5 separate regions of the Homo sapiens genome follow, and regions 1, 2, 3 and 5 are each linked to region 4. Evidence: promoter capture Hi-C in 16 types of primary human blood cells and fetal thymus (Javierre and others, 2016). All regions are on one chromosome and are shown on one strand. The core of a region is centred on a gene start or on the middle of the fragment in contact, and the rest is flanking DNA. Distances in the headings are between cores, read along the strand shown.

Region 1 (2,700 bases), core at 36-2,535, 400 kb before region 4:
GTGCACATATGTGCATGAGCCCAGGTGTCAAACTCCGAGAAAAGAGATGAATGTTAGTCCCACACCTGCTCTGTTGATGGGCTTTCCCCACCCCCTACCCACCTGCATTCTATTAGCAGGACTGGTCTTTAAACAAATCTCTCACAGGTGAGGTGGCCTCCACTTTTCTCACACCTTCTTATACAGTCATGCACCTCATAACGTTTCAGTCAACTACAGACTGCAGCTAAAGTGGTGGGCCCATACGATTATTATTATTATTATTATTTTTGAAACAGAGTCTTGCTTGTGTCGCCCAGGCTGGAGTGCCCTGGCACAACCTCGGCTCACTGCAACCTCTGCCTCCTGGGTTCAAGCTATTCTCCTGCCTCAGCCTCCTGAGTAGCTGGGATTACAGGCACCCGCAACCATACCCAGCTAATTTTTTGTATTTTTAGTAGAGACAGGGTTTCACCATGTTATTCAGGCTGGTCTTGAACTCCTGACCTCAAGTGATCCACCTGCCTCAGCCTCCCAAAGTGCTGGGAGTATAGGCATGAGCCACTGTGCCCAGCCCCACAAGATTATAATACTGTATTTTAACTCTACCTTTTCTATGTATAGATATGTTTAGATACACAAATACTTACTATTGTGCCACAATTGCCTACAGTATTCAGTACAGTAACAAGCTCTCTGAGTGTGTAGCCTGGGAGCAGTAGCCTGGGTGTGTGGTAGTCCATACTACCATCTGGGTTTGTGTAAGTGCACTCTATGATGTTCATACAATGACGAAATTGCCTGAGGACACATTTCTCAGGACATATCCCCCTTGTTGAGTGATGCAGGACAGTGCTTACTCATCCTCCTCTTTTTTTTTTTTCCAAGATAGAGTCTTGCTGTGTCACCCAGGCTGGAGTGCAGTTGTGCAATCTTGGCTCACTGCAACCTCCACCTCCCGGATTCAAGCGATTCTCCTGCCTCAGCCTCCTGAGTAGCTGGGATTACAGGCACCCACCACCACGTCCAGCTAATTTTTGTATTTTTAGTAGAGATGGGATTTCACCATGTTGGCCATGCTGGTCTCGAACTTCTGACCTCGTGATCCACCCGCCTCGGCTTCCCAAAGTGCTGGGATTACAGGTGTGAGCCACTGCACCAGGCCTCATCCTCCTCTTAAGTTTTCCCAAACTCTGTCTGCGATGGTCCTGCACCCTCAGTGCTTGTTTCCCACCTTCATTGGCTCAGTGTTTTTGGAGCCCTCTAGCCCTGTGAGATGCTCTGGAAGGAAAGGGCTCCTGAGTCCGTGGGTTTCTAGTAAAAGTTGCACTCATTACACCTTCATGGAGACTCATCATGTACCCCAGCATAGGAAAGGTCCTGAGAAGTCCTAAAGTAAAGAAACCTGCTTAAGTTAGTTCATCACAGGGGTTCCTGCAATTCTTGGCTATTAGAACCTGATTTGAAGGTATAACGCCTTGTCAGAATCCGTGCTCCTCGGCGCGCACCCGGGGAAGTCTGTGGTGTGCTGTGGGAGATGGCTCCCTGTGTTCAAGCGGCCTCTTCTCTGCTTCTCCAGCAACTGTGCGGATATTTCCAAGTGTCTGGCTGATGAGGGCCACGCACATAGGCTGGGCCTATCTCAGGGATGGGGGGTACCTCGTGGCTTGAGAATCAATCCTGGCTCTCTGCATCTGGGGCCCACAGGGAGCCTGGCCTCGCCCAGAGAAGCCACGTCAAGGGGCACATCTCCAGAACTGGCTAAGGTGAGGCCTCACACCCAGCCCCGCAGCCTCGGAGCCAGCCAGGGTCCATTGGCTCCTCCTCGCACTGGTCCTGGCCTGGCTGTCAGGGCAGAGGATGCCACCAGTCTCAAGACCCAGAGTGGCCGCAGGAACAAGGGAGACTCTGCCATTTGAGCCAATGCTCCAGGGACTAGAAGCCTGGGTTCTGACTCCAGGGCCCTTGCTCTGCCCTCAGCGTCTGCCCTCCCAGGCCCAGTACCCATGCCTCCCTCAGCCCTAAGACTTCCAGTGGCCTCCTGATGGTCAGAGGCCCTCAGAACACTGTGGTCGGGCATCCTGAAGCCCCAGCCTGGGGTCGGGGATCGGGGGCAGAAGCCTTGCAGCCAGTCCCACTCCTGATCTGACCACTGCTTCCAGAGAATTACAGGGTCAGGAAGGCCCCTGCTATCCCGTCCCTCATACCATTAAAATCAGATACTTAAAATTATGCAAGAAATACATGAACAGCGTCTCTTCAGATGATTCAGACAATACAGAAGTGGGGTAAAAACACTGAAGTCTGTTTTGCTTCTCACCAGCCCATGGATTTTTAAAAACTCAAGTTGAACCATATTCTGTATTTTTCTATTTTTCAATGACTTTATTTCTTAAAGAAATTTAACAATCTGATACATGTTAATACATCTTGATCTACCTTGTTTTTTTTTTAAAACTCATCTACACAATATTCCAGGGTGTTGATGTCTCCCTTATTTCTCTCTCTTCTCTCTCTCTCTCTCTCTCTCTCTCTCTCTCTCTCTGTCTCTCTCTCATCTTCCTTTTGCCACCCAGGCTGGAATGTAGTGGTGTGATCACAGCTCACTACAGCCTGGATTCAGCACACAGGAATCAGAGTCAGAATCAGAAAAAAAACAAGGAGGAAGCTGAGGTTCCAAGAGGTCACCCAGGCAGCTGCGACCAGAACGGTCCCCCGCGT
Region 2 (2,700 bases), core at 54-2,553, 260 kb before region 4:
CCACAGCCTCAGCGCAGGTTCTAGTATTCGTCTTGTTCCTTGTCTCAATAACCAGAACCATCCCTGAAGCTTGCTCACAATTGTCTGAGTTCAGCTTCTTCAAAATCTCTTTTAACTAAATTGCTCCCCCATATTAACTCTTGCTGTCCCAAAGGACACGAACACATCACCTGAGGTCACCCATCATGCAGTGGCAGAGCTCAGATGGGAACTTTGGCTTATGAGCCTTCACAGGCCTCACTCTCCCATTCTTTGCAGGATAAAGCACCAGGAAGCACAAAGAAAATTCTTTGCATAGCAGAAACTCTCAAATGGTAGAAAGTGAGCAACCCCATTTCCACACACTCAGAGAAGAATTTTGCAGTGGGCTGAGCAGTTTTGCTCTGTGGGAACACAGCATATACCTCTCATGGGTTCTCTGTTTCCTTTTTTTTTTTTTTTGAGACAGAGTCTTACTCTGTCACCCAGGCTGGAGTACAGTTGCATAGTCTCAGCTCACTGCAACCTCTGCCTCCTGGGTTCGAGCGATTCTCCTGCCTCAGCCTCCTGAGTAGCTGGGACTACAGGCGTTCACCACTACTCCCGGCTCATTTTTGTATTTTCAGTAGAGATGGGGTTTCACAGTGCTGGCCAGGCTGGTCTTGAACTCCTGACCTCAGGTGATCCGCCTGCCTTGGCCTCCCAAAGTGCTGGGATTATAGGTGTGAGCCACCACACCCGCTGTTTCCTTTTTTTGAGACAGGGCTCCACTCTGTCTCGCAGGCTAAAGTGCAGTGGTACAATCATAGTTCACTGCAGCCTCAAACTCCCAGGCTCAAGTGATCTCCTGCCTCACCCTCCCGAGTAGTTGGGACTGCAGGCATATGCGCCACCACGCCTGGCGAATTTTTTTTTTTTTAATAGGGTCTTTTTCTGTTGTCCAGGGTGGAGTGCAATGGCATGATCTCAGCTCACTGCAACCTCTGCCTCCTGGGTTCAAGTGATTCTCCTGCCTCGGCCTCCCAAGTAGCTGGGATTACAGGCACGCACCAACACGCCTGGCTAATTTTTGTATTTTTGGTAGAGATGGGGTTTCACCACGTTGGCCAGGCTGGTCTGGAGTTTCTGACCTCAGGTGCTCCACCTGCCTTGGCCTCTCAAAGTGCTGGGATTATAGGCATGAGCCACAGCACCCTGCGAAGAGATTCTTCCTCTAGGACAAAGCCCCCCCCTCCAAAGACCCCTGAGGGTCACTGCAGGGCCACTCCTCTTCCCTCCCCTTCCTAATGGTATAGCAGCCATTCTGTGGGACAAAAAGAAGACAAACTGAGGTAGGTCCTCCTGGGAGTCTGGGACTGGTCCTTGGGGCTGCCTGGGTGACCCCCTACCCAATTCTGTTTCCCTGGCACTCCCTACCACCCTCTACTGCTCCTTGTGACACCGTCCTTCTGTAAGATCATCTTCTCTTTTACACGTTTGCTTATTCATTACCTGTCTCTTCTACCTGGAGGTAAGGAACCAAATTAGACTGGCAACACCGCCTCTTGTTCTCCTCTATTTCCAGCATCCAGAAAAGTGTCTGGCTTATCCTTGGTGCTCCATAAATTTTTACTGAATGAATGAATAAATGAATTCATGAATGAACAGGATGGCTAGTGAGACTCTGACGGCCTCCTGCTTCCCCCACACTGTGGAAGGTGGGGCTCCCCAAGCCTGCACTCCTACCTGAGATGCCAGTCTCTTTGTCTACTTTAGACACCAGGTTCCAAAGACCCTGTGCTCTCAGATACCTTTTATGTCTAAAGCAGAGGCCCTACCCCAGCACTCCCCATCTCAGTAGACAGTAACTCCATTTACCCACTTGTTCAAATTCAAAATGTCAGTCATCCTTGGCCGGGCGCGGTGGCTCATGCCTATAATCTCAGCACCTTGGGAGGCCAAGGCGGGCGGATCACCTGAGGTCAGGAGTTTAAGACCAGCCTGGCCAACATGGTGAAACCCCCTCTCTACTAAAACACACAAAAATTAGCCAGGCGTGGTGGCGCGCACCTGTAATCCCAGTTACTTGTGAGGCTGAAGCAGGAGAACCACTTGAACCCAGGAGGAGGAGGAGGACGTAGTGAGCCAAGATTGCACCACTGCACTCCAGCCTGCGTGACAGAGTGAGACTCCATTTCAAAAAAAAAAATAGTGTCAGTCATTCTTGACTCCTACCTCCCTTTCCTCCAATGCACTGGCGAATCCTATTTGGGCCCCCTTCAATGTACATCCTGAATCTGACCACCATGGCGACCACGAACTCTCACCTTGACGATGGCAATACCCTCCTAAGGGGACTCCCCACTTCCCTTCTTCCTCTTCTCCAACCCAGGTTCTGTCTGCACATGGAGTGGCCTATTGGAAATATCATTCAGATTGCCTCACCTCCCTGCCTGCGACCCACTAACAGTCCTCTCTCTTCTTTGCTCACTCTGTTCCAGCCACTGAAACTATCCCCACAGGGTTAACAAGAATCACATGTCAGGTTCTGGACAGAAATAGAGTTATAATTAAGCTTTAATTTGGCTGCTTTCTGACCCACTTCCTTGTTGCTGAGATTCACATAGCACTAGATATTGACCACTTGCCTCCCCATTGTCCCTACACATAGGATTTCTTTTTCTTTTTTTTTTTTCTTTGAGATGCAGTTTCACTCTTGTTGCCCAGGCTGGAGTGCAGTGG
Region 3 (2,700 bases), core at 97-2,596, 420 kb before region 4:
TTTCTCTCTGTCCTGTTTTCTGTAAAATGACAGTTGGGCTAGATGAGTTCTAGGATGCTTTTCTGCCCCATGATTCTAAACATTAGGACAGAAGAGTGGGTACCATGTTTGTTTCCCTCACTCCCATGCCCCAGTGTTAGCTGCAAGATGCTGTTGGATCCTCTTGATGGAGACGGGGGAAGAGCATGATCCCAGCCAACTGACACATGGCACAGCAAGGGGGCAGGAGGGTCAAGGCTGCCCTGGCTGGGATGGGGAGCTGGGAGTGCACAGAGTAAAGGGCCCTTGCCGCCTCGGCCTCACTGTCCGGACACCCACATGAGCCAGAGCCAGCATGGACTACACAGCTTCCATGGGCACAGGGGAGTCGGCATAGGCCTGGAGGAAGGGGCGCCTAATAGTAGTGTTCACCATTCTCAAGCCTGGGGAGTTTGATGCCCAGGTTCAGGGCTGTTCCAGAATGCTTAGGTGGGTATGAATGCCCAAAACTGCAGCCGACAGGTCCCAGATGCAGCTTCTGTCTCTCGCCTCTGCTGGGGTCATGGGAGACAGCTCCCCCAGTCTTCTCCACCCTTGCCCAGCCTCCTGTGCAGAGCCACAGGCAGATCCTACCAGCTGGGAATGTCCAGTATGAAGCAGGTTGAGGAAGGGAAGGGCCTGGGGAAGAAATTCACTGGGGAAGAGGGAGGATGTCAGAAGATTTGTGGCATCAGGAAATGACAGGAAAGCCGGAGGGGAGTTGGAGTGGCTGGAGAGGTGAGAGTCCCTGGGCAGAGCCTCTGGTGAGCAGCCTTCGGGTCTGGGTCCGGGGCCCCTTTCCTTCAGGGCCCGGCCGGGCAACTTGCGGGGATGGGATAATGCCTTAGGGAGTCCAGGAGCCCCAGCCCAGACTGCCCCTCTTGGGGTGTGAAGCCCCTGCAAGGGCTGAGTGGCAGAAAGCAAGGGTGGCCGCAGCCACTGAGCATCCCTGGGAAGGGATGGGGCTGTATAGAAGGGGCACCTGGGGACAGGTGGGCAGTCACAGTGTCTCAGCCCGCTGGGACTCACAGCAGAGCTCATCTGTAGAAGAGAAGGTAGAGGTCAGATGTTACATGGGAGGAAATTTCCAATAAAGACAAAAGTGCTTCCGCGGAGAGGGGACCTGGAGATTGGGACTCTGCTCATACTCGCTTCGCTGCACGCGGTCACTGTGGTGTCCTTGCATCCCTCTTGCCCCTCCCTCAGCGCTCTGCCCTTCCCCAGTTCCTGCTGCTTCCTCTGCAGGAACAGCTGCATGTCTGGGCTTGTCAGGGAGTCAGCTGCGTCTCCAGACACAGACGCAGGAGGCCCAGCACCACCCCCAGCCTGATGCCGTCACTGAGGTTTGGAAGGTGGTGGTCTCCTCCCTGTTAAACTGAGACCCAGAGAGGGGGAGTGTGTTTTAATTCCCCAGACCCAACAAGTGAGTAGTGCCAGAAAGGGCCCTCGGGGTCCCATCTCTCCAGGCGGCCTCAGGTCAGTTCCCTCCCGCTGTGGTAGCCTCATCAGCTAATTCTGCCTCTGTTGGATCAGCCAGCAAGGCAATGCTCAAGGGGGCTGGGTGGCGACTCCAATTTGGGTGCACCAGCCAGTCCCAGGGGTGAAGGCAGTGACTTATTTGGGAATTATTTTTGTAGAGGAGACACTTGACTCCACGGCTGTTGAGGCTGAAGCTACCCAAGTGACCCCTGAGCTGAGTGGCAGGGAGGGCTGGCGGCTCCTGGACTCAGCTTCACACCACCTCCCAAGGTGTTCTCAGCCATGCCCCTACCTCTGCACAGGGCCACTCCTAAACAAATCCTCCTGCCTCCCTGGAGCTTGAAGGAGGTGCTTTGCCTCCCATCCTCTCCGCAGTCTCCTCTCCCCTCGGGGATTGGTCACGTGGAACCCTGTTGGAGCCTGAGGGGTGAGATGGTGAGTGCCCAGAGGGCAACGGTGGCTGGCTCCTTCCAGAGCCCACTTTTTCTTTCTTTCTTTCTTTCTTTCTTTTTTTTTTTTTGTTTCTTGGGACAGGGTCTCCCCTCTGTCGCCCAGGCTGGAGTGCAGTGACACAATCATAGTTCACTGCAGCCTCAACCTCCCAGGCTGGAGCTATCCACCTACATCAGCCCTCCGGGCAGCTGGGACTACAGGCACACACCACCACACCCAGCTAATTTTTTTTTTATTTTTTGCAGAATCAGTGTTTCGCCATGTTGCCCAGGCTGGTCTCGAACTCCTGAGCTCAAGTGATCCTCCTATCTCAGATTCCCAAAGTGCTGGGATTACAGGTGTGAGCCACCATGCCTGGGTTTTCCTTGTTGATAAATGAGCATGGGATTGTTCTAGAGAAACTGTGCCATGAGCTGGGTGGGACAGGAGCATCAAGATCATTTCAGAAAGTTCTCTCGTGAAAGCCAAAATATGTGCCTACTCCACCTCTGCCCGCTAGCTACCATGTCCCAGGCCAAAAAGTCCTTAGGAGAGGAGAATCCCATGCAACTGTGGAGTGTGTGCTGGGCCCAGTCCTGGGTTCCTCATCCATTGCCTGCCTTAATCCCCAAGGCGGCTGTGGGGCACAGATTTCCCCATTTGACAGGACACCTCAACCAGCGGTTCTCAACCTCACTAGTACTGACATGTGAGGCTGGGTGCTTCTTTGCTGTGTGGCCTGCCCTGTGCATTATAGGATACATAGCAGCA
Region 4 (2,700 bases), core at 115-2,614:
CTGCCCAAGCGCAGAGAAGGGAGGAGGAAAGGAAGGAACGCGGGAACGCGGGAGGGAGCAGCTGGGAGCGCTGCCAGCAGTGTTACAAGCAAAGGGTTTTATCGAACACGATATGCCCAGAAATAAAAGGGAGTGTAACAGAAACCCAGCGGCCGATAAGGCGGTGGCGGTAGCAGCAGCAGCCCTGGGCAGCTGGGTATGGAATTACTGCAGTGACCTTGAGCCAGACCCTGTCAGGTGGAGGGAAGGGCACAGAGAGGGCAGGGCCTGAGAATTCAGAGATGACGAGAGGGCAGAGGAGGGAGGAAGCTGAGGGGATGGGAGCAGGGCCAGCAGGCGGTGGGATGGGCCACGGGGCACGGAGTATCAGCTCTCTCCTGCATACAGGGTCCCAAGGAGAACTGCGCAGTAGGGAGGGGCTGCTCTTCTCAGGGCCTGCAGGATGGGGGGATCTGGAGAGTTTCCCAAAAGTCAGGACCGAAAAATGCAGATCGCTCATCCCCAGCAAGGGTTTCGGAGAGATGGAGAGAACCCAGATCTGTCCAGTCACACGTGCATGAGTTTGCGTAAAGTCTGTGCACCCACCAGCCCAGCCCACACCCTCTTCCCGTCCTCTGCTAAGGTGGGCTCCAGCCCCTGCCTCCAAGTCAGATCCAGCCTGAGCAGTGGGGAATGACAGTGCCCTTCTTGATGCTGTAAGGGACAGGGGGTGAGCTTGAACTCTAAGCTTCTGGCCACTGTAATAGCTGCATCCCGGGAGCACAGAAGATGGGGGAGGGGGGACTGCCCTGAGGCTAGAGGTGTGCATGAGGGGCTGAAGAAGAGGAAACAGCAGAGATGTGCAGAAGGAGTCTGTGGGGAATGCCACCAAAGATGCTAAGATGCCACCAAAGATGCTAAGTCCCAGGATGGTTGGGGAGGGGGCCCTGAGTCCCTTTTTGGGGGCGGCAGGGAGGGAGGGGTGGCAGGAAAGAAGCCTTTAGGTCCTCTACAGCTCAGCCTTCTCCCTCGCACCTGGAAAAGAGACTAAGCCCCAGAACCACTGTTTGCTCCCCACCAACCCCCGCCTTCCATGCCGCCACTGCCAGGGAGGGGGCCAGGGAGGAAGCTTACCTCCAGTGCGGGCTCCCTCGGCCCCAGCCCCAGCCCGAGTAGCCTCTGCGGTGACCCTCCGACCTGTGCAGCAGCGGGACGGCACAGCCTCGGGAGCGTCTCCAGAGCCATCCACCATGGACCCTCGTCCCAGAGACCCACCTGCTCCCAGGAGGTGCAGACCCCTCAGAGGGGCAGCGGCAGGGTCCCTGGAATGGGTAGCAGCTCTTCCCGCGTGCGTTTGCCTCCTAGCCAGCGCCAGGCAGCACTCCGAGGAAAGTTGCTCAGCTGGCCCGGCAGGTCTGCCTCAGCAGTAACAGGACACAGGAGGAAGTGCAGGGCAGGTTAACCCCTTCCTGCTGGCCAGGCAAGTGGTGCATTGAGAGGTGGGGGGCCTGCCTGTTGGCCGCCCCCAGGAAGTGCACATCTGGAGCCAGTGCTGGCGACCTGATCCCCTCTGCTTTGAGTTAACCCTTCCCCTGCCTCTTCAACAGGAAAGGAGGGGGGCTCCAACACCCCCACCACACCCCTCCCCTTCCTCCTCTGGGCCGGGAGGACATTAAAGGAGAGGGCAGGGACATTCCCTGGGGCTGGCTCTTTGGTGGAGCCCCCGTCTTCTCGTCTTCTTGGGGAGGAGAGCATCAGGACTCCAGCACAGCCCCCTCCCTGCCTTTCCCACACGGAGTCAGATCCTTCTGTCCATCCTCCCCCTCCTGCATCTCAGCTGGAGGATGCCTGAGGCCCACTTAAGGATGCCCACCCACCCAAAAACCAAAGTTGTTCTTCAAACTCTGGGAGCCTGGAGTGCTCTTCACACAGGGAGCCCAGCCCCAAATGGTTATGACTGACAGAAGACAATGAGGGGCCTGAGTTTGAGCTGACAATACCTTTTTTTCTGAGAGCCATTTCTAGCCTGTTTCATGTTCCCCTGAGCAAGGGAGGTAGCATGAAGATCAGCAGCTGTTTTTAAGGCAGAAAGATGGCTCAAGGCCAGATAGTTTGAGATGAGGAGGGGGATAAGGCAGACTAGACCCCGAAATAACAAGGTGATGTGGCCTCTAGAGCTGAAGAGGTGTGGTGAGCATGATCTTCAGGGACTGAATTGGGGCCCTGGGACCCAGCTGAAGAGGGGAGATGGCAGGGAGCCAGGTCCCATGGGTCTAGTTCTACTCCTCATCTCACACTTTGTCATACTTGGTGATGACACTTCGGGAAGACCTGGCTCCAGGAAGCACGACCCTGAAAGTGTGGGCCAAGGAAGCCAGAGGCAGGGACTACCAGAGGTGACACACTGTCCTGTCACCTGACTCCTTGTCTTGCTACCAATCTGCTCCTCTGCTTGGCATCCCACACATCACTTCCCCAGCTATGTCTGTCTGTCCTCCTGCAGGAGGGCTCTGGCAGCTGGCAGGAGGGGATCTGAGGGCAGGTGGAACATGGGAGGACCTGGATCAGGAGCTGACCTAGCCAAGATCCATCATGCAAGACACAGAGGCACACGGAAGTAGTAGAAACTTGAAGGTTCTTTATTGATTTATTTATTAACCCGTTTTCCAGAAGGTTGCTTGGGCCCGAGAGTCACCTGCAGAGGCGCAAAGCCTCCTCGAC
Region 5 (2,500 bases), core at 1-2,500, 340 kb after region 4:
TGGGGAGGGGTCCCTGTGCTGCTCTCTGGCACCTCACCCCTGTTTGCCTCCCAAAGGGTGCTCCTGGTACTCCCGGGCCTCAAGGTATTGCTGGACAGCGTGGTGTGGTCGGCCTGCCTGGTCAGAGAGGAGAGAGAGGCTTCCCTGGTCTTCCTGGCCCCTCTGTAAGTGCCCCCCTCACCTTGGGGGGCCCTGAGAAAAACCATCACAGGACTTGGAGTGGGGCGGAGCCAAGGAGAACAGATTTGGTAGAGATGACTCCAGCGGACTCAAGGGTCCTCCCAGACCCTATCTCTGGCCTGACTCTTTCTTCTCCCTTAGGGTGAACCTGGCAAACAAGGTCCCTCTGGAGCAAGTGGTGAACGTGGTCCCCCTGGTCCCATGGGCCCCCCTGGATTGGCTGGACCCCCTGGTGAATCTGGACGTGAGGTGAGCAGTCCCCAGCCCCCATGCCAGTACCCTCAGCATGGCCATTGTGGCCTTGCCTAAGCCCTCTTCCCCGGCTGACTCTCACTTCTCTCTCTCTCTCTCTGCAGGGGGCTCCTGGTGCCGAAGGTTCCCCTGGACGAGACGGTTCTCCTGGCGCCAAGGTAAGATGGCAACACTCCATGACCACAGCCTTGTCTGCTGCTTCCCTGCCCCATCCTGGCCCTTCACCCGGGGCTGACCCATATTCCCCTGCTCTCCCCGCCAGGGTGACCGTGGTGAGACCGGCCCCGCTGGACCCCCTGGTGCTCCTGGTGCTCCTGGTGCCCCTGGCCCCGTTGGCCCTGCTGGCAAGAGTGGTGATCGTGGTGAGACTGTAAGTAGCTGGGCTCCAGTTCCCTGTACCTGGTCAGGCCAGGGACTCTTCAGGCCTCCTTAGAGGCCTGGGGATGGGTGTCGGACTTCACCCAGGCAGGGGGAGGAAAGGAGATCCTGCAAGATGTCAGGGCCTTAATCCAAAAAACTGAGTTAAAGCTCAGCCCCAAGTCCCCTCTCCCAGACAGGACCGCCTCTCCCATGAGTTGGCCCCAGCTCCCGTGAAGATTGCAGTGGGGAGGTTTCCCTGGGAGTTGGGAGAGATGGCCACAGTGGGAAGCAGCTGAGGAGAGAGAGATCCAGCAGAGGGGAGGCCTCATCCTGCAGCCCCAGCCTCAGCCTTCCCTGGCCAAGAGCTCATGCTTTCCTTGCTCTCCCCAGGGTCCTGCTGGTCCCGCCGGTCCTGTCGGCCCTGTTGGCGCCCGTGGCCCCGCCGTAAGTACCCTGCTGTGTCCCCCATGCCTTTAGAACTCTACAGATGCAGACAGTGCCCCACTCGATGCCAATGGAACTTCCGCCTGACAGTTTGTCCCTTTCTCTCTTCTAGGGACCCCAAGGCCCCCGTGGTGACAAGGGTGAGACAGGCGAACAGGGCGACAGAGGCATAAAGGGTCACCGTGGCTTCTCTGGCCTCCAGGGTCCCCCTGGCCCTCCTGTAAGTATGCTCAGCCCCTCCCCAGTCCCCATGCTGTGCTGTGGGATAGGAGGGGGAGCTTCGCCTCAGTTTCCCCCTCTGGATAGTCATTCTTTCCCCTCCCTAGTGGGGACTGGGGTCTGAAGATTTGTGGGCATGTCCAAGTAGCTTCTGAGAGGGTGAGGGGTACACAGAGAGGGATTATGGGAGAGGTCTCTGCCTATGGACACCCTCGGGCTAGATTTCCAGAATAATGAAGGGGCATGGGTTGCCCACACTGCCCTTGTCTCTCCAGCCAGGCCCTCAGGCTACATTTGACGCTCACTGGGCCTGAACTGCCTTTTTTATCTGTCCTTCAGGGCTCTCCTGGTGAACAAGGTCCCTCTGGAGCCTCTGGTCCTGCTGGTCCCCGAGTAAGTCATGCCTTCTCTCTCCTCTTCCTGAGCCCCAAGCCCAGGCTCACCTCGGGGACCCTTGCCAGGGACCCAGGCACCCTTTGCCTCTCTGGAGAAGGGTTCAGGGACAGGGAGTGGGCAAAGAGAGGAAGAATCCTGAACAAACAATCTGATCTAGCTTTGGCCTCTCTGCTCCCCAATCCGTCCTCCCCTGGCTCAGCGGCTGGGAGGAGCTATGGCATGTCCTATGGAAAGAGGCTGAGGCTGGCTCTATGAGCCGTGGGGCCAGAGCCAGCAGGGAGGGTGGTGGGCCTCTCCTCCAGAGCTGGGGTTGTTCGGGCTTCTGGCAGCCTTTCTCAAACCATTTCCCCCACTCCAGGGTCCCCCTGGCTCTGCTGGTGCTCCTGGCAAAGATGGACTCAACGGTCTCCCTGGCCCCATTGGGCCCCCTGGTCCTCGCGGTCGCACTGGTGATGCTGGTCCTGTTGTATGTAGCCCCTCATCCCCTCTGCTCATGGCCCTCCAGCCCCCAAAGCACTTGGATGCCGGTAATCCCCACTCTCTTCCCTCTCTGTGCAGGGTCCCCCCGGCCCTCCTGGACCTCCTGGTCCCCCTGGTCCTCCCAGCGCTGGTTTCGACTTCAGCTTCCTGCCCCAGCCACCTCAAGAGA

The links. The method cuts DNA at HindIII sites, captures the fragments that hold promoters and counts their contacts. A CHiCAGO score of 5 or more calls a contact.
Region 1: a fragment that was not itself captured here is called in contact with the fragment with the promoter of EPN3 in region 4 in 1 of 17 cell types (endothelial precursors); the score reaches 6.5 in endothelial precursors.
Region 2: a fragment that was not itself captured here is called in contact with the fragment with the promoter of EPN3 in region 4 in 1 of 17 cell types (M1 macrophages); the score reaches 5.1 in M1 macrophages.
Region 3: a contact is called between a fragment that was not itself captured here and the fragment with the promoter of EPN3 in region 4, in 2 of 17 cell types (M2 macrophages and total B cells). The highest score is 5.6, in M2 macrophages.
Region 5: a contact is called between a fragment that was not itself captured here and the fragment with the promoter of EPN3 in region 4, in 1 of 17 cell types (megakaryocytes). The highest score is 5.1, in megakaryocytes.

Annotation. Positions count from the first base shown.
Region 1 is chr17:50,931,773-50,934,472 of GRCh38, reverse strand. No RefSeq gene overlaps it. Among named protein-coding and RNA genes, the nearest start is that of TOB1-AS1, 66 kb to the right of the region's middle. RefSeq lists a silencer at 2,619-2,700. The HindIII fragment of the contact is 5,593 bases long and covers 1-2,700 here.
Region 2 is chr17:50,787,849-50,790,548 of GRCh38, reverse strand. No RefSeq gene overlaps it. Among named protein-coding and RNA genes, the nearest start is that of MIR8059, 21 kb to the right of the region's middle. The HindIII fragment of the contact is 2,464 bases long and covers 72-2,535 here.
Region 3 is chr17:50,953,009-50,955,708 of GRCh38, reverse strand. No RefSeq gene overlaps it. Among named protein-coding and RNA genes, the nearest start is that of TOB1-AS1, 88 kb to the right of the region's middle. RefSeq lists enhancers at 455-1,135, 1,136-1,816, 628-1,827. The HindIII fragment of the contact is 9,104 bases long and covers 1-2,700 here.
Region 4 is chr17:50,531,399-50,534,098 of GRCh38, reverse strand. EPN3 (epsin 3) reads right to left here and starts at 1,364. Exons shown (of 10, transcript NM_017957.3): 1 at 1,114-1,364. MYCBPAP (MYCBP associated protein) reads right to left here. Exons shown (of 19, transcript NM_032133.6): 19 at 2,598-2,700. The coding sequence ends at 2,671. RefSeq lists an enhancer at 1-498. The HindIII fragment of the contact is 5,271 bases long and covers 1,111-2,700 here.
Region 5 is chr17:50,186,832-50,189,331 of GRCh38, reverse strand. COL1A1 (collagen type I alpha 1 chain) reads left to right here. Exons shown (of 51, transcript NM_000088.4): 40 at 57-164; 41 at 322-429; 42 at 537-590; 43 at 695-802; 44 at 1,183-1,236; 45 at 1,349-1,456; 46 at 1,795-1,848; 47 at 2,210-2,317; 48 at 2,410-2,500. Among named protein-coding and RNA genes, the nearest start is that of COL1A1, 14 kb to the left of the region's middle. RefSeq lists enhancers at 1-70, 71-626. The HindIII fragment of the contact is 5,715 bases long and covers 1-2,500 here.